2 separate regions of the Homo sapiens genome follow, and region 1 is linked to region 2. The links are contacts of gene promoters, found by promoter capture Hi-C in blood cells and fetal thymus (Javierre and others, 2016). All regions are on one chromosome and are shown on one strand. The core of a region is centred on a gene start or on the middle of the fragment in contact, and the rest is flanking DNA. Distances in the headings are between cores, read along the strand shown. Region 1 overlaps TENM2 (teneurin transmembrane protein 2). Region 2 holds the start of TENM2-AS3 (TENM2 antisense RNA 3).

Region 1 (6,291 bases), core at 3,107-5,606, 260 kb after region 2:
ACTACAGATATTCCTCCCAAGGAAAAAACACTCACAGGTAATCAAACCTGGACAGCAGATTCCCAAATACCAACCCTTCAAATATCATAAATATCACCTCATGATTTTCATCATAGCCATGTATCACCTGGCCTCTTCTTTACTTAATATTTTTGTTTGTAAATCAATTGTTGTTGTTGTTTTTTTTTTGTTTTTTTGTTTTTTTTTGACGGAGTCTTGCTCTGTCGCCCAGGCTGGAGTGCAGTGGTGCAATCTCGGCTCACTGCAAGCTCCACCTCCCAGGTTCACATCATTCTCCTGCCTCAGCCTCCCCAGTAGCTGGGACTACAGGTGTCCGCCACAACACCTGGCTAATTTTTTGTATTTTTAGCAGAGACGGGGTTTCATCATGTTAGCCAGGATGGTCTCGATCTCCTGACCTCGTGATCCGCCCACCTCGGCCTCCCAAAGTGCTGGGATTACAGGCGTGAGCCACCGCACCCAGCCAATTCTGTTTTGTTTTTTTTTTTTTTAAATCACCATTCTAAGTAGAAATTCACTTAGTAGCCACAGATAGAGGGTAAAATAAAATGTTTAAAATAAAATGTAAAAAGTTCAACACAATATGCTTTATTTCCAGCTAACTATTTTTGTCTGATTCAGAGACAAACCTGAACCCTTTCCCTCTGTTAAAATGTAAAATTCATATGTTTTAGAGAGGCATTAAAGTCTAGCATCCCACTGAGACTCCTCCAATGGCAGGAGTCTGCAAACTGGCCCAAGGATTGTTTTTATACAAACTAGAGTTAAGAAGGAGTTTTATATTTTTTTAATGGCTAAAAATATCAAAAGAAGAATAACATTTCACATGTAAAATTATATGAAATTCCAATTTCAGTGTGCATAAAAGTTTTTTTGGTGCCACACCCATTCCTTACGTTTTACCTACAGCTGCTTTAGTGCTAAAATGGCTGAACTGAGTAGTAGCAACAGAGACCTCATGGCCTGCAAAGCCTAAGATACTTACTATCTGGTCCTTTACAGATAAAGTTTGCCTACCCCTCATTATGTGACCCAACTTATTTAATGCCACTGCAGGTGCTGTGCCTATGGTATGTGTAGCTCCCATACTCTGGAAAATTCTGCTCTGTGAATAAGCATGGCTAAAAACTGGGGATCCGATTCCCACAAAGGAGGAATAAAGCTTCAGAGACATATTTACCCCATTGGGAAATGACATCAGAAGCAAGAGTAGATGAATGTTGTCTGAGAATATACAGGATACATCCACATGTCTCTTATGTGCAGCTCAACTGGAATGTCAACAGAAGTAGTTTGGTGGCTGTTTGCTCCTGCTGTACCAACTCAAGTGTAAAATAATGGGCTATTTATCTACTTGTGATGACAATTTTTTTTTCTGCATGTAAACATTAAAATCCCTTCTGATGAACAATGTGATTACACGGTCCAGTTTCAGTGAGCTTCTATAGTTAGTTTCACTTAACGCACTTACCACAACTAATGAGAACTATTCATGCACACCAAGAGATTAAGAGCTGGGGCCCGATTCTCAAAAGGATGGGAAAGGAAAGAAATGATTAGCAGGCTCAGAATGCACCAACCAGACTTTTTCCACTAAGCTCATTTAAAAGACAACATACTAAGGAAGCAAAGAAATGACAGAGTGGATAGGCTCAGCATGAAGGAACCTCCCATGAAAACATGACTGTTTTAATTACTATGTAAAAGCAGGAATATAATTTGCAACTAATTCGTCAAACACAGGCACAGAAAATACAGCTGAGTCACCTCTAGTCCTGGGGAAAGGGATGCTCTGCTATTTTAAGGGATGCTCTGCTATTTTAAATATTGGTTCAGAACCTGGGCTGTGGATGAGAATCACCTGGGAAGCTCTTAACAGCCTGAGTTCCAGGCCACACCCTGACCAATTCAATCAGGATCCCAGTTTTGTAGAGATCCCCAGGTGCTTCCAACATAAGGCCATAATTGAGAACCAGCCCTCTCTTACTGTCTTACCTTGTAAGTTGATAGCCACAAGATGTTAAATGGGCTCACTTGGGATGAGAAATTGAGCTGGATAAGTGCAGAGGAGGTAGAGTGAATAGAGGAACTCAAGCAAGATGTCGATTTAGGAGGCTGATGATTTTTGTACATTTCTGATAATACTAAAATCTCAACTTGAGATTTCTGGTGCCTTTCTAAAAATCTTAGATAAGTGGAATTGTGAAAAGTGCATTCAATCAATTAGTCTGTTGTGCATCCAAAATATATTTTAAATAGTTAAAAGGAATGATTGTGCTGGGCTCTTGAGTTCCATCCTTAAGCTAAATCTTTGGGGAACACTTATACCCAGTAAGGAATATTCCAAGTAATTAGCCTTCATATACAGTGATGGTGGCACTACAACATCTTGAACATGCTAGGCAAGGCAGTGGACTCTGAACTGTAAGTGAAACACAGCATTAAGATCTATGTACATATTGGTTTTGCTTCTGGGTATGAAATTCCCTAAGCTATATTTTTTCCACTATCAACTCCAGGCCCTTCACTCTTGCCCATACTTAATAACCTCTGCCTTAATCAAGTGGTTTTTTTTTTTTTTTTTGCCTAGAAATTTCTTAAAATTTAGGTAACAGTGAGGGAGAGGAGCACCGATGTTTGGCATTATGACAGTTACCCAGTCTTCCAGTAACAACTCCTAAGTTTATCCAATGAGACTATTCCTCAGGAAATAAATTTTGAATAGCCCGAATCAAGCTAAAATTGAATCAAGTTCAACATTCTTCTGGAAACCCAATGCATCTTACAGGAAAATTATGTAACTCTATAAAAAGGTATTCATTAAATCCTAACTATTCATATAGCAAGTGTCAAATGAAATTTGGAGAAGGAATTTTTTTAACATATTAAAGTTCCATTATCCTCAATTTTCCATGACCAACCAAACACTTTTGCCTAGCCCCTCTATTGACCAATAGGGGCAGATTTCTTAGTCTTTGGAGATTTGGTACGGCAATTGCGGCAGTGGAATGGTATAAGTCAGTCTTCCCAGAGGTTATGATATTTGCATTTATTGAGCATCGTATATACAGAATGCCAGCCACACTCTACTAATAGCTCAGCACAAACCAATGAATTAGAGAACAGCATTCCTAATTACAGATGAAACATACGAGGCTCTCGCAAAGGCTATGTAAAATGCCCTTTAATCAGTGGCCATTCTGTGATTCAGACCCAGGGCTGTTTGTCTCTAAAGCTCGGGCTCTCAGTTGTTACTCCCTACTGCCAACTCAAGCCATCAAGCCGACCAGGCAGCCCTTTGAGGGACCAGTGGAGGAGCTCAAAATGGCCTCATTCCCAGCATGAGTGCATATGCAACACTATCGTCCATCTGCCACAATTCTACTGTGCATTGATGCCATTCTAGAAGAAAGCCCAAAGGCCATTTGGGCAACCTCTCAACAGTTCACCACTTAATTGTTAATCTAATCGATCTATCTTTTTCTTGGGAAGGAGGCACCTGCTTGAACAGCTGGGTCTCCCTACCTTATTGGATACAGGGTATGAATAAATACAATTGCTTCTGCCAGAAGCACATACACAAACTGGAAGTGGCTTGGAGGTATATATTTTTAAAGTCATGCATATATATTTAATTTATAGTCTGTAACATAAGAAATGTGGTTTAGGTGATGCTGATAATAAAGTTCTGTTTTCAGTAACATTTCCTGTGGGAGTAATTCCCACCTATCAGTCCAGGCACTGGCTGTGTCCAAAATGCCTGAGATGTTAATTAAAAATACAGATTCCTCAGGTTCACCCCAAACAAATGGAATCAGACTGTCCAGGGGTGATGATCTGGAAACTGTGTTTCCAATAAAGCCTCAGGTGACAGTAGTGCACAGCCAGAATTAGGAACTAATTTACTAAGTTAGAGTGAATGGGGGCAATTGCCTTCGGCCAATTCATTTGACCTTTTTAATAATTATTGACCTAATACTATTTGCCAGCACTGTTCTAGACCCTGAGAACAACTTGTGAACAGGGCAGATAAGGTCTGTCCTATGAACTTTACATTATAGTGAGGGGAGACCAGCACTAAGCAAGTAGACATAGGCAGAAATGAGATCATTTCAGGTAGTGGTATTCCGGGGTGGCAAAGAGGGCAGGAAGAAAGAGAAGGCTATCAAGCAATTATTCAGGAAGGCAGAGGGTTTGGTAGCAAGGCAGAGGGTCAAGAAGGAGGTACTCCTCTCCCGCAAATGGTGCTAAAAAATAGGTGAGACTTTAACCACACGGGCAACTTCAGATCTCAGGTCCAAACTACTTAAGATAGTTTTTTGTGTATCACTTACCCTCTGCAAAAGCCAACTGGTTTGGGACCAGGGCTATGCCCCCAACCTCTCTTCCTCTGACTTCTCTTTCCCCTGCCAGCGAGATCCCCCTTGTCCATCAATTTCCTGAAGACTCTCCTGGAGAACTCCCAGTTCTCCTAACCACCAGGAGCCACAGCGTCTCTTCCCTGAAGTCAGGGAGAGTTGGGATTTGAACCAAGTTCTGTTTGAGCGCAATGACCCTACTCTTTCTAAAATACCATCAAGGAATATGTAGTGAAGGACAATTTTCTGGTGGTGATTGCTGAGGGACAGAAGCGGGGAAGGCAGACTGGCACAATAAGATTGGAGAAATGGGATATAAGGGAAAACTCCATCTTCATTTGCACACTATTCAATTTAAACTGATCTTAACTGGGTAAACACCTGCTGGTGGAAGACACAGTGTGACTTGCCTCAGGCTTTACCCAGACTATCGAGCTCTGTCTACTTCCTTCCCTTGAAACTTCCCAGAAGAACAGGAAGAAATTGTTCTTATTTGTTCCAGGTCTTATTTTTTTCTACTCATGAGCCAAGATGCAGAGAGTATTTCTGCAGTCAGAGGAGAGATGGTCCTTACAAATTTTGCAATTGGAAGGATGAGGCAAAATGAGGCCAAAGGTAAATGAAGGTTGGGGTGGGGCAGGGAGGAAAATCACAAGTGTGTGAGACAGAATATATAAGTCATGTTTTTCCAGTGTCTGACACAGTATAAGACATTGGTTGCCCAGAAAATGATACTAAGTGTGACAAAGTGTCAAACAACTTTGGGTCTCCAGAACATTTTCATTAGAAATACTTTGTTTTCAATTTGTCTTCAAAGTTTCTGGTTATATTAAGGAGAAAGTCTCAGTTTGTTCCTAGCATTTCATTGCTTATATTCCTCTCTCTCTCTACACACACACACACACACACACACACACACACACACACACACACACATACTCGCATATACGGATATATATACAAATATATACATATATACGAATATATACGTACATACATATATACAAACATATATGTGTGTGTGATTGCGTGTGTGTAATTTTACTTGTTTATACTGGTATTTCCTTTTAAGCGGTGACAAAATGTTTTTATTTTAAAGACACTTAAGTTGCAAGGAGGAATTATTTTAAATAAAATATCAAGCAATATATTATAGGTGGCATTAAAGATGGGACAGAAATCAAGGTGATAGAAAATGGAAAATGGCTGAAGTTTGATAAATGTTATCTAACCCAATCTCCTTTCTTTACAGATGAAAAAACCAAGGCCTGGATAACTAATTCACAGCCACACAAGTATTTAGTCGCAAAAAATGGTAATAGCATGCAGCTCTCTCTGTTCAGTGCCCTTTTCAGGATGTGAAGAAAGATATCTGTATAAATATGAGAAGTCCTTCCCAAATAAGTAAAGTAACTGGCATAACTGAGGAGCTCTTTGGCAAATCTACTCTGTATACCAACTCAAGAAAAACAGGGAAAAAACCCCAATCTGTTCTTTCTCATTGTGTGCCAATAAAAAGTCACCAGATCTTTCTGAACCTCACTTTCCTCTTCTGTTAAACTTAAAAAAAAATACATAAAAGTAAATAAAAATATAACTTTACTTGTCTCAAAAGAGTTTAAGAATTAAGGATGATAACAATATAATGGCTTGACATGTAGGAAGTGATCATATACAGCATTAATTATTTTTCCTTCTGCCCCTCAAAATATGTTTTGGGGTTTGAATTACTAAAAAAAAAAAAAAAAAAAAAAAAAAGTGTGTTTTTTTCCTAAATTTCGCCTCTTCCATTCCCAGATGATTTTCTTTTCAAATAGGAGGTGAAGTTCCCGGGTCATGGGCCCAAAATTATGGCAAACCAAAAGAACCCTTCACACTGAAAGCAAAATTAACAGCAGCAGCAGAGTCTCTG
Region 2 (7,234 bases), core at 2,512-5,011:
TAAAGAAGAAAAGAGAGAAGAATCAAATAGACACAACAAAAAATCATAAAGGGGATATCACCACTGATCCCACAGAAATACAAACTACCATCAGAGAATACTATAAACATCTCTATGCAAATAAACCAGAAAATCTAGAAGAAATGGATAAATTGCTGGACACATACACCCTCTCAAGACTAAACCAGGAAGAAGTCGAATCCCTGAATAGACCAATAATAATTTCTGAAATTGAGGCAGTAATTAATAGCCTACCAACAAAAAAAAAAGCCCAGAACCAGATGGAATCAGAGTTGAATCCTACCAGAGGTACAAAAAGGAGCTGGTACCATTCCTTCTGAAACTATTCCAAACAATTGAAAAAGAGGGACTCCTCCCTAACTCATTTTATGAGGCCAGCATCATCCTGATAGCAAAACCTGGCAAAGACACAACAAAAAAAGAAAAGTTCAGGCCAATATCCCTGCTGAACATCGATGCGAAAATCCTCAATAAAATACTGGCAAACTGAAGCCAGCAGCACATCAAAAAGCTTCTCCACCATGATCAAGTCGGTTTCATCCCTGGGATGCAAGGCTGGTTCAACATACGCAAATCAATAAATGTAATTAATCACATAAACAGAACCAATGACAAAAACCACATGATTATCTCAATAGATGCAGAAAAGGCCTTCAATAAAATTTAACACCCCTTCATGCTAAAAACTCTCAATAAACTAGGTATTGATGAAACATATCTCAAAATAATAAGAGTTATTTATGACAGACCCACAGCCAATATCACACTGAATGGCCAAAAGCTGGAAGCATTCCCTTTGAAAACCGGCACAAGACAAGGATGCCCTCTCTCACCACTCCTATTCAACATAGTACTCGAAGTTCTGGCGAGGGAAATCAGGCAAGAGAAAGAAATAAAGGGTATTCAAATAGGAAGACAGGAGGTCAAATTGTTTCTGTTTGCAGATGATATGATTGTATATTTAGAAAACTCCATCATCTCTGCCCAAAAATCTCCTTAAGGTGATAAGCAACTTCAAGCAAAGTCTCAGGATACAAAGTCAATATGCAAAAATCACAAGCATTTTTATACACCAATAACAGACAAACAGAGAGCCAAATCATGAGTGAACTCCCATTCACAATTGCTACAAAGAGAATAAAATACCTAGGAATCCAACTTACAAGGGATGTGAAGGACCTCTTCAAGGAGGACTACAAACCACTGCTCAACGAAATGAGAGGACACAAACAAATGGAAAAACATTCCATGCTCATGGATAGGAAGAATCAATATAGTGAAAATAGCCACACTGCCCAAAGTAATTCATAGATTCAATGCTATCCCCATCAAGCTACCATTGACTTTCTTCACAGAATTAGAAAAAACTACTTAAAATTTAATATGGAACCAAAAAAGAGCCCATACGGCCAAGTGATATAGCCTAAGCAAAAAGAACAAAACAGGAGTCATCACGCTACCTGACTTCAAACTATACTACAAGGTTACATTTACCAAAACAGCATGGTACTGGTACCAAAACAGATATATAGACCAATGGAACAGAACAGAGGCCCCAGAAATAACACCATACATCTACAACCATCTGATCTTTGACAAACCCGATGGAAACAAGCAATGGGGAAAGGATTCCCTATTTAATAAATGGTGTTGGAAAAACTGGCTAGCTATATTCAGAAAACTGAAACTGGAACACTTCCTTATGCCTTATACAAAAATTAACTCAAGATGGATTAAAGACTTAAACACAAAACCTAAAACCATAAAAACCCCAGAAGAAAACCTAGGCAATACCATTCAGGACATAGGCATGGGCAAAGACTTCATGACAAAAACACAAAAAGCAATGGCAAAGAAAGCCAAAATTGACAAATGGAATCTAATTAAACTAAAGAGCTTCCCCACAGCAAAATAAACTATAATCAGAGAGAACAGGCAATCTATAGAATGGGAGAAAATTTTTGCCATCTATCCATCTGACAAAGGGCTAATATCTAGAATCCACAAGGAACTTAAACAAATTTACAAGAAAAAAACAAACAACCCCATCAAAAATTGGGTGAAGGATATGAACAGACACTTCTCAAAAGAAGACATTCATGTGGGCAACAACCATATGAAAAAAAGCTCATTATCACTGATCATTAGAGAAATGCAAATCAAAACCACAATGAGATAACATCTCATGCCAGTTACAATGGCGATCATTGAAAGTCAGGAAACAACAGATGCTGGAGAGGATGTGGAGAAATAGGAATGCTTTTACACTGTTGGTGGGAGTGTAAATTGATTCAACCATTGTGAAAGACAGTGTGGTGATTCCTCAAGGATCTAGAACCAGAAATACCATTTGACCCAGCAATCCCATTACTGGGTATGAACCCAAAGGATTATAAATCATTCTACTATAAAGACACATGCACACATATGTTTATTGCAGCACTATTCACAATAGCAGAGACTTGGAACCAACCCAAATGCCCATCCATGATAGACTGGATAAAGAAAATGTGGCACATATACACCATGGAATACTATGCAGCCATAACAAAAGGATGAGTTCATGTCCTTTGCAGGGACATGAATGAAGCGGGAAACCATCATCCTCAGCAAACTAACACAGGAACAGAAAACCAAACACCACATGTTCTCACTCATAAGTGGGAGCTGAACAATAAGAACACATGGACACAGGGAGGGGAACATCACACACTGGGGCCTGTGAGGGGGCAGGGGCCTAGGGGAGGGATAGCATTAGGAGAAATACCTAATATAGATGACCAGTTGATGGGTGCAGGAAACCACCATGGCATGTTTATACCTATGTAACGAACCTGCACGTTCTGCACATGTATCCCAGAACTTAAACTATAATAAATTTTAAAAAAGCATAATACCCGATACGTAGCTTTTCATTCCTCAATTGGAATGTTTTTAATGTTTGAACCAAACATGCATGCCAAAACTGCACCTAATAAAATTATAATTATATTCTTAATATCATTAAATACCCAATCCGTGTTTAAATTACCCCAATTGTCTTGACAGATTTTTCGTGTTAGTTTGGATTAAGAGTCAAACAGATGTGGTTGTTATAACGTTTACTTTGTTATGTAACCATTCTTTGTGTGAGAGCCTGTGTGTGTGTTTGTTTGTGTGTGTGTGTGTGTGAGTGAGTGTGTGTGTGCACACACGTTAGGTATTTTTTGCAGAGGAAAATAATAATAATGCAGCACCCTTTGTATTTGGCTTAGTGCTTCATTTTGTGTCATTTTATTTATTTCTGTACCAATTCTTTTAAACTAATGTTGAGATCAAGGATATTTATTAGCTTAGGTTCATTCTTTTAGTTTCTCTTAATAAAGCAAAAATTCTTTAAAAATCCTATAATTGTCAGAAAATAAAATTAAAAGTTTGGAGTGATTATAGTGACAAAGATGTATAACATATTAATTTTCAGGATCTTATAAAAAAACAAAAAAATTATAGGTAAGAAACAACTCCAAATGCTACTTTCAAAATTGCTTCCAGCTGTGTGAAGAGAATTCACTGGCCATTATCAGAAACATTACAGATTATTTCTGTCTTTCCTCAAACCTAAGTTATTAAAGTTTAAAATCTATTTGGGAACTTTATGAAGGGTCAGTATGAATTAGCCCTCCTCTCTGTTCCGTCTCCATGGTTCTTCTAGACAAGGAAACAATAGCATTTGAAACACACAAACCAAGAATGTGCCTGGGGATAGAGCAGCAAGGCTGTTTCAGAGTCTGGCCAACCCACACAGAGCCTTCACTGTCAGTGACATTCCAGCCCCTCCATACCCTGACTGACAGGTCTTCTTTCAGATCATTAAGGTGTATATGGTTTTGGAGAACAGAATCGAAGGTGAAAAAAGGACAGAAGCAAAGGCTACACAAAACAAAGCCAGACCTGGAGATCATTTTCAAACTCTTCCCTCCTCACGTAAGTGCTGCCCCTTTTTTCTTGTTTGTTTTTATACATTACCGTTTGCCCCACAGGCATCAAGCTGTTAGTGTGTACAGGAGGGATTAAAGTGAGACTGCATGTTGGATGAAATATAAATTTAAATTATACTTCTGTCAGTTTGGAATCAGGGATTGTTTCTCAAGGTCTCCCCAAACACTTAATTTCAAATGAGTCTTCATTTATTACTTCAAGAAAGGCCAAATGCATAATTTATCAGCAGCTTTCAGTCAATATACCCTTATAAGCATGTTTCCCATGAGCCTTCGAGTAAAAATATGTTATGCTAATTCTATTAGTTGGGTACACAAGAGCTATCCGAGAAAGTAAACAAGCTTTAAAAGGAGACACATGTGAACGAAGAAATACCTGTCAACCTACTGTCCAGGGTCAAATTACCAAGGGAACAAGGAGGTGGTAAACTTGTCTCATTATTTATACCCAGAGGGTCTCTCCGACTGGAACTCTGAGACACCCAGTGGCTCTGTGTGGTGACTCAGGGGTAAGGTGACACTGAGTGTGACTGTGAGCTGGCGATGGGGACTTACCGGGTCTCCAGTGGCACGTTGCTGTTTAGCACCCAGCTGTCCTGAAGCTGAACGGACTCTGGTGTGGTGGCCAGGTCATTGGGCGCTGGGGCCGGGGCGTGGATCTGACTCCGCCGATTGGTCAGTGAGTTCCTGTTGAGGGAGTTGGCGGACGAGTGGTGATGGGACAGCGTGTGGTTGTGAGGGGGTGGGAGAGGGGGCCTCAGAGTCGACTGGCTGTGGTGGTTCGGAGGGCCTGAAAAAAAAAGGAGAAATGACTGTTAGCGTCTGCAAATTCCAGTCTCAGGCACTCTGCAAACCACTGGAGGAGAGTTTCAAACCAAAGTCTCTAAGCTGACAATTGCTGAAAGCTGCAAGCTAGAGCGACAGATAAGACTGCGGCAGGCATCCCAGAGTCAGTTACAAATAAATAATGGGCTTTGATTTGCATTTATCCACACGCATCAAATGAAGAATAATGAGAAACTAATTTAGCAAAACCAGGTGGATAAGGGCTGACCAGAGGAATTATTTGAAACATATTAATACTGCAATGAAAGTAACATGACATTCAAGGCTGATCGCTGGCGTAGCAAGTCCCTATTCCCTTTCCAGGTAAACTGGTATACTGCACACATTCTTTTCAAAAATTTCATCTTTTGAAGATATTAAGAATATGGAACACTCTAAGTCAGGGAATAGTACCTTTAAATACCTATAGGGACTAGGCAGGAAGGTGGAGTGGGCTAGCTAAGGACTGAGTTGAGGTGAAGAGACTAGGGGGCAGCCCTCACTCAGCACCAGGTCAATTTGATCACGTGGGAATGAGGGAGAGAGCTCAAGGCAGCCGTAATTTCTAATTTCTCTAGAAAAGCTGGAAATCTGGACTTGTAGATAAAATTTCCTAGTTTTTAAAAATGTTGACAATTCAAAATGAGATTTATATATATGTATGTGTGTATACACACATATTTGCGTATGTATGTGTGTATACACACATATTTGCGTATGTATGTGTGTATATATGTGTATATGTGTAATATACACATATATATCTATTTTAAAATGAGAGTGAACAAAACACACCTGTGAGCCCACTCAGCTCAGCAGGTTGCTAACTTCTTTCCTCTGAGAGATGAACCCTGAGGACTCGGTCTCTGGAGAAGGTCATGGCAGATGTTTTCAAGCCATGACCCCGACTCCAAATTGCATCCTGCGTTTTTTTAAATAACAAAATCCTCTATCCTTGCAGGAAAAACAAAGGAGAGCTCTCCCTTGGAAAATATCCCCTTGTAGATATCGCTGTCTCTGACAACTCCACACAAGGTTTTCCTAGCAACCGATTCTCAATCTACAAAATGAAATATTTTAAGCATAATGAAAATGAAAGTAGTTTGCTATGCGATGAAGCCTATAATTTCGTTTTAATGGATGCTGAAACATGACTTTTAATTTGTGTCCTTTGAGAAAGTTTTATTTTTTGAAGCTTCCAGTCAGGGCTGGCAGCTCACCAGGTGACTGCTGAGCCTTGTCATTTTTGGCCCCTGCCAACTTTAAAAATCCTCAGCCCCTGCTGTCCTGGCTTTAAGAAGTTGGCTCAAGTCATTTAAACAAGCAATTTGACACAAATTTCAACTACTTGTCTCCTTATGTGGCCGGGCTACATCTCCAAAAGGTGTAATCTACATTCTGGGGTTCCTGTGCAGGCTGCAGAAACATTCTGAAGAAAAGACAACATGTCAAGAAGATACTAGGTTTGGAGAGCATCCTGACCAACAAAAACAAGAAGGAAAAATGTGGAGGAAACAGGTTCCTTGAAGTTCGCATCTCTAGGCTGAAATTATTTGGGTGATTTTTGTTTTCTTTGTGATGTTTAGAAAAGGACAGTGACAACAAAAACCCAGTGGGAAATACCACTGTACAGTTGTATAGATTTTAAATCATGTCCTCCAAATGAACCTGTAATTCCTATTTTACATTATGCATCAGTGACATTTTAAATATATCTTTGGGAGAGTTTCATAGCTGTAGCAGGCTATTATATTTTCTGGCATTGTTGTCTGTCTAGTAATGTATTATTACATAGTTATTTAGCATTTGTCTGTCTCATATTAGTGGAAAGAGGTGGGAAAGGGGGGTGAAATGATGTAATAATGATCCTTCAGGGATGCTATCCAAGCCCCTCACACATGGTTAATGAATTCTCATGCCTTTCTTTCCCCCTCTCTCAACTCCCATCCAAGTGGTGTCATTATTCCCCATTAGTTAGGTAATTACGAGACTTGCCTCAGGAAGATGGGGCGGGTCAGTGCACAAGTGAGAACCTGCCCTCCCCAGCCCTAAGTCCTAACTTTCCATCTCCCTCTGTCCTGGCCCCCCACCCTCCCCTCTCCAGACCACACACTCTTCTAAAGTACAAAGAGGCCATATAAAGGATTTAATTCCCTAAATGAGATACCAGACCCTCCTCCTTCCTGTGTATTCACTCTGAGCTAAGTTCTCCTTATCTACTCCAGCTTGTGTGGCCCTTGTGAGGTCCATCTGTGTTATGCGTGGGCAGAATTCCTGCGGTTGCTTGTGTGCTGACAATATCCAGGGCTGGTCCCCAGGGGGAAGAGAAGCACCGACCTGGGTGCCATGTGTTATGTTCCAAATAAAATGAATTGGGAGTTTTCCAGTTAACTAGAAGAGAGGTCAAGTTC

The links. Contacts are between HindIII fragments. The CHiCAGO score rates a contact against its expected background, and 5 or more counts as called.
Region 1: a contact is called between a fragment that was not itself captured here and the fragment with the promoter of TENM2-AS3 in region 2, in 1 of 17 cell types (monocytes). The highest score is 5.1, in monocytes.

The regions. Positions count from the first base shown.
Region 1 is chr5:167,689,948-167,696,238 of GRCh38, reverse strand. The region is part of intron 4 of TENM2 (teneurin transmembrane protein 2); the gene reads right to left. Among named protein-coding and RNA genes, the nearest start is that of TENM2-AS4, 33 kb to the right of the region's middle. The HindIII fragment of the contact is 6,342 bases long and covers 1,186-6,291 here.
Region 2 is chr5:167,950,142-167,957,375 of GRCh38, reverse strand. TENM2-AS3 (TENM2 antisense RNA 3) reads left to right here and starts at 3,761. Exons shown (of 3, transcript XR_941186.3): 1 at 3,761-3,984. It overlaps TENM2 (teneurin transmembrane protein 2), which reads right to left. Exons shown (of 31, transcript NM_001395460.1): 6 at 4,554-4,788. The HindIII fragment of the contact is 3,808 bases long and covers 535-4,342 here.